2 separate regions of the Homo sapiens genome follow, and region 2 is linked to region 1. The links are contacts of gene promoters, found by promoter capture Hi-C in human tissues and cell types (Jung and others, 2019). All regions are on one chromosome and are shown on one strand. The core of a region is centred on a gene start or on the middle of the fragment in contact, and the rest is flanking DNA. Distances in the headings are between cores, read along the strand shown. Region 1 holds the start of BCR (BCR activator of RhoGEF and GTPase). Region 2 has its middle 35 kb from the start of LINC01659.

Region 1 (3,131 bases), core at 73-2,572:
GGAGGGCATGATAATCCCTAACATCCACACAGGGACAACAGCACTTGGAGGCAGATGTGCTTCTCACTTCAAGGAAACTGAGGCAGAGAGGGAGAGGTGGTCAGGACTCAAGCCCAGTAATTCATTTGCCAAATCCTGTTTCCTTTTCCCCCAACCCAGCGGGCTGGTTTGGGTATTTTCAGTTTGTGCCCATCAGAGTCCCTGCAGAGTGCTCTCCACTGTGTCTCAGATCTCTGTGTCCCCAGAGAACCATCAAAGGTTTTGTTTCACTCCCTGCTCTGGGCTGTCTTCCACCCAGCCCTGTGAACCTCAGTGCAGGTTGGCCGCCCCCTTAGAGGGAGGCTAATCAGGGAAGTTCTGAGTCAGGTCGTCCTGGAAAAACTACATTGACCTCTGGAGCTCAAGAGAGGCCAGGGGACAAACACATGGCTCAGCACACAGGAAGGCAGGTGTGGGTATTGAGTGACCTGAGGGAGAAATCCCTATTTATCATCCATCATGTGGTCCTGCTGTGACAAACCCGTGTGGCAGCCACCCACAGCAGATCCACAACGTGAGAGGCCCGCTGAAACAAGGGTGCTGGCATTGGTTACTCAGCCTGGCCCTCCCTGCCTTGCGGGGTGACCTGCCTGGTCCTGGCCTCTCTGTGAGTTGGGCCCTGCTGGGTGGTCCCTAGTGTGCCCAGCCCTGAGGCTGGTGAGAGGCCAGGCTGTGAGGTGTGAGGAACTTACCTGCGTCTCCATGGAAGGTGCCCTCCGCATCGTTGGGCCAGATCTGCCTGGTCTTGCAGATGCCCACGATGGTGGCCTCTGACACGACGACTGGGCAGTGCCGGTGACGCTTATGGCACTGCGGCGTGGTAGGGGCAGAGGGGGGAGGTTGCTTCTGTCGGAGGACTGCTGCGAGTTCTGCCAGAGAGAGCAGCTCTTGTCCCGGAACATGAGGTAGGTGGTGGGGCTTGGGGACACGCGGCTGGACTGGCCGGAGAAGTCCTCCTGGCCGGAGGGGAGCCAAGTGTTCCTGTTCCAGGACTGCAGAACTGGCCCAGACCTCTGTATTGGAAAGGTCTTTATGGACCAGGGAGTCCGGTGTCTTTTTTACGGGGGACCCCTGGGCTGCGAGTTGCACAGTCCAATTCGCTGTTGTTAGGGCCTCAGTTTCCCAAAAGGCACAGGGACGGGGGGAGGGTGGCGGCTCGATGGGGGAGCCGCCTCCAGGGGGCCCCCCCGCCCTGTGCCCACGGCGCGGCCCCTTTAAGAGGCCCGCCTGGCTCCGTCATCCGCGCCGCGGCCACCTCCCCCCGGCCCTCCCCTTCCTGCGGCGCAGAGTGCGGGCCGGGCGGGAGTGCGGCGAGAGCCGGCTGGCTGAGCTTAGCGTCCGAGGAGGCGGCGGCGGCGGCGGCGGCACGGCGGCGGCGGGGCTGTGGGGCGGTGCGGAAGCGAGAGGCGAGGAGCGCGCGGGCCGTGGCCAGAGTCTGGCGGCGGCCTGGCGGAGCGGAGAGCAGCGCCCGCGCCTCGCCGTGCGGAGGAGCCCCGCACACAATAGCGGCGCGCGCAGCCCGCGCCCTTCCCCCCGGCGCGCCCCGCCCCGCGCGCCGAGCGCCCCGCTCCGCCTCACCTGCCACCAGGGAGTGGGCGGGCATTGTTCGCCGCCGCCGCCGCCGCGCGGGCCATGGGGGCCGCCCGGCGCCCGGGGCCGGGCTGGCGAGGCGCCGCGCCGCCGCTGAGACGGGCCCCGCGCGCAGCCCGGCGGCGCAGGTAAGGCCGGCCGCGCCATGGTGGACCCGGTGGGCTTCGCGGAGGCGTGGAAGGCGCAGTTCCCGGACTCAGAGCCCCCGCGCATGGAGCTGCGCTCAGTGGGCGACATCGAGCAGGAGCTGGAGCGCTGCAAGGCCTCCATTCGGCGCCTGGAGCAGGAGGTGAACCAGGAGCGCTTCCGCATGATCTACCTGCAGACGTTGCTGGCCAAGGAAAAGAAGAGCTATGACCGGCAGCGATGGGGCTTCCGGCGCGCGGCGCAGGCCCCCGACGGCGCCTCCGAGCCCCGAGCGTCCGCGTCGCGCCCGCAGCCAGCGCCCGCCGACGGAGCCGACCCGCCGCCCGCCGAGGAGCCCGAGGCCCGGCCCGACGGCGAGGGTTCTCCGGGTAAGGCCAGGCCCGGGACCGCCCGCAGGCCCGGGGCAGCCGCGTCGGGGGAACGGGACGACCGGGGACCCCCCGCCAGCGTGGCGGCGCTCAGGTCCAACTTCGAGCGGATCCGCAAGGGCCATGGCCAGCCCGGGGCGGACGCCGAGAAGCCCTTCTACGTGAACGTCGAGTTTCACCACGAGCGCGGCCTGGTGAAGGTCAACGACAAAGAGGTGTCGGACCGCATCAGCTCCCTGGGCAGCCAGGCCATGCAGATGGAGCGCAAAAAGTCCCAGCACGGCGCGGGCTCGAGCGTGGGGGATGCATCCAGGCCCCCTTACCGGGGACGCTCCTCGGAGAGCAGCTGCGGCGTCGACGGCGACTACGAGGACGCCGAGTTGAACCCCCGCTTCCTGAAGGACAACCTGATCGACGCCAATGGCGGTAGCAGGCCCCCTTGGCCGCCCCTGGAGTACCAGCCCTACCAGAGCATCTACGTCGGGGGCATGATGGAAGGGGAGGGCAAGGGCCCGCTCCTGCGCAGCCAGAGCACCTCTGAGCAGGAGAAGCGCCTTACCTGGCCCCGCAGGTCCTACTCCCCCCGGAGTTTTGAGGATTGCGGAGGCGGCTATACCCCGGACTGCAGCTCCAATGAGAACCTCACCTCCAGCGAGGAGGACTTCTCCTCTGGCCAGTCCAGCCGCGTGTCCCCAAGCCCCACCACCTACCGCATGTTCCGGGACAAAAGCCGCTCTCCCTCGCAGAACTCGCAACAGTCCTTCGACAGCAGCAGTCCCCCCACGCCGCAGTGCCATAAGCGGCACCGGCACTGCCCGGTTGTCGTGTCCGAGGCCACCATCGTGGGCGTCCGCAAGACCGGGCAGATCTGGCCCAACGATGGCGAGGGCGCCTTCCATGGAGACGCAGGTGAGTTCCTCACGCCACGTGCGTGGGCACACCTGCACGGGGGAGGAAAACCATAGACGAGTAGGGGATACAAAACAG
Region 2 (2,829 bases), core at 330-2,829, 220 kb after region 1:
TCGGTCTGGGAACCCACAGGCTGTGTCGGAAGGACGGCGGGGGCCCTGGGTGCCTCTGTCGATCTCTGGGACCCATCCGTAAGGGGACCGTTGGGGGCTGGCCTGGCAATGACCTGGGGTGCATGGGTGATGGGAGTGAGCCAAGCCTGGCTGAGAGAGCGTGCCCCAAAGAGACTGACTGGGCCCCCTCACTGCCCCAGCCATGGGATGGGCCCAGACACAGACCAGCCCAGTGGCCCTTGGCCCAGTGAGCCAACTTCCCCATGGGCAGATGAGTGGACGGGCAGATGAGTGGACAGGCAGGCAGAGCGCTTGCGGCAAGCTGTGGAGGCGTGGCACTCTCTCCCGCCGATGGGTCCACACCAGGCTGGGGTGGCCTTGGGTCCCTGGGGCAGAGAAGTTGATGGGGAACGGGGGTGTGCTGCGGGGTCCTGGTCCCCGTGGCACCACGGCGGATGGGTGGTGGTCAGTCCTCACACCAGGATCTCGTACATGGTCCCACCCACGCCAGACACCTTCTTAACCAGCGTGTGCCACATAGATCTGGCAGAGGGCCCTGGGGGGCCTGTGGCAGGTCCCAGCCGGGCCAGGCCCAGAGACTGCCCATTAAGCTTACCTGGGGGAGTCTTCAGCTGAGGGTGGTCCCTGCATCAAAACAAGCACATACACGCATGCACACGGTGAACACACGAACACGGGGACAGAGGACGGAGGAGGCAACAGGACAGAGACGACACAGACGTGGACTGGTGTAGCCATGTCGTGGGGCCCTGGGCAGTCCCTGCCCTCTAGGCTCGGAGGGTTCACCCAGAAAGTAGGAGGGAGATGCAGAGCCTGCCTGGGGAGCGGCTGTGCCATCACAGGACAGATGTTGTCAGAACTGCCACCACCCTCCCAAGTCCCTGGGTCCCTAGGCAGCACTGGCCACAGAGAGCATGGGGCAGTCAGGTGGGCACTGAATGGAGCCCCTGCCCTGCTCTGCACTGGGAGCCCGGCCACTCTGCCTGGCCTCATTCCTGCTCTCTCTCAGGAAAACGAGGGGCTGCCCTCCTGCCCACCAGCGCTGACCAACAGCAGCTCTATCCTTGCTGCTTAAACCTTCTCAAGGTGAGAGCCCTTTGTCCCCGGGCTGCGATCCCTGCCTGGCTGCAATGCTGCCCACTTCTAGGTCTCGGGCTCCCCACTCATCACTCCCAGTGGCAGCCTCCTCCCCAACTCCACAAAAGCTGAACAGACTCCTACCCTGTGGGGTAGGGGAGGCCTCCTCAGGGCTGGACTGCTGTGCCCTCAGCCCCTTTGTGGCCAAGTGGCCTGGGCTGGGCTGGGCGGGGCTGGGCTCTCCCCCTGGGGCCGCATCTGACGACAGGAAACAGCTGAGCCTGTGCTTGAGGTTTCCAGGCCCAGACGGGGTGACAGACGACAGATGCCGTGAGGACACCATGCGTCCGTGGCGTGGGTCCTGGCCCCAGCAGGTGTGCAGCTCTCCTACCTGGGCCTGGGCCTACAAGCCAGCTGACCCCGCTCTCTCAGTTACCAACCTGCTGGGTGCCTGGAGCCAGCCTGCTTTCTCCAGTCCTCAGTTTCCCCACTACGAGCAGGGAAGCCCCTGCTTCCCAGAACTATGTCCCACAGGGAGGGCCAGGGCCCGGCCACCCAGGGAGGCACATTCTGCTGCGAGGTAATGTCCTCAGCCCCAGCCTCCTAGAGATGCAGCAAAGCAGGCCCAGGGAGAGCACCGGGTAGACAGGGCCACTGTGACCCAGGATGCCAGAGCCACAGCCTAAAGGAGGCCCAGGCTGCCACATGATACTGACCCCAAAGAGAAAGCCCCATGGCCTCCTACGTGCTGGGTCTGTGCCAGCTCTGGAAGAACAAGTCATTGGGATCAGGACACAAATTCTCATACCCTGTCCCCAGAGCATGCCCAGGACATCCTCAGAGCTGGGCCACACGGGCTAGCCAAAGCCTTCAATGCAGGGTGAGGCGCATCCTCCCTGTCCCGTCCCCAGAGAAAAACTCAGGCCCCTGGGATGACCTATGAGTGCCCAGCCAAGAGGGGCCCTGCAGACGGCTGGACAGCTGCCCTGTGCCAGGAAGCCCACCCGCACCTCCCAGCACCCACCTCTGCACGGTCAGCGAGGGCGGTGGCTCTAGGAGGTCCATTTGGATGAAGGTGACACCTTTGGGGCCTGTGTAGGATGGTGAGTGGGGAGTGCCGGGCGGGGAGGGCAGGCCCTGGCGTGCGGGCGACCTGTGTGAGCCACTACTGGGCCGGGGCCCCGGGGCGTTGCTGCTGACCTGATCAGCCTGCAGGGAGGAGGACGACGTCCGCAGTGCACGGCTCACGGAGCTGGAAAGCGAGGACAATGATGTCTGCAGGACAGGGTTGCAGGCGCCGCCGAAGCCGGGCCTGGCCACAAGGTCATCTGTAGAGCTGTAGCACAGCGTAGGACCTCGGAAGCCCTCAGACAGCACACTGGCCTGCTGCAGGCTGTAGGAGCTGGGAGCATCATAGACGCCTGAGTCGCCGAAGAGTGAGTCGGCCTGGGAGCGCAGCAGGCACTCACGCTCCTCCCTGTCCTTGCGCTCCTGGATGGATGCCATGATGGTCCTGGACAGGATGTCGTAGAGCACAGGCGAGGGCTCCTGGGGCCGGGGGCCCAGCACGGGACTGAAGCTGTGGGGCAGGGGCCATGGTGGGTCGCCCGTTGCCCCAGGGTGCAGGTAGGGTGAGTGGTATCCGGCCACGCCAACTGCTGGATGGGCGAGGCAGGCGTGGCCACCAGGCGAGCCAGGGTTGAGCACATTATTGTAGGACAGGCTGCGATT

The links. The method cuts DNA at HindIII sites, captures the fragments that hold promoters and counts their contacts. A contact is called where the count stands out against the background at its distance.
Region 2: a fragment that was not itself captured here is called in contact with the fragment with the promoter of BCR in region 1 in 1 of the 25 tissues and cell types used here (dorsolateral prefrontal cortex).

What each region holds. Positions count from the first base shown.
Region 1 is chr22:23,179,187-23,182,317 of GRCh38, forward strand. BCR (BCR activator of RhoGEF and GTPase) reads left to right here and starts at 1,323. Exons shown (of 23, transcript NM_004327.4): 1 at 1,323-3,053. The coding sequence starts at 1,775. It also overlaps a transcript of RSPH14 not described here and the pseudogene BCRP8. RefSeq lists an enhancer at 243-1,053 and silencers at 1,174-1,413, 1,484-1,753, 1,774-1,853. The HindIII fragment of the contact is 16,176 bases long and covers 1-3,131 here.
Region 2 is chr22:23,397,462-23,400,290 of GRCh38, forward strand. It overlaps the pseudogene ZDHHC8BP. Among named protein-coding and RNA genes, the nearest start is that of LINC01659, 35 kb to the right of the region's middle. RefSeq lists enhancers at 1,439-1,993, 2,083-2,829. The HindIII fragment of the contact is 6,507 bases long and covers 1-2,829 here.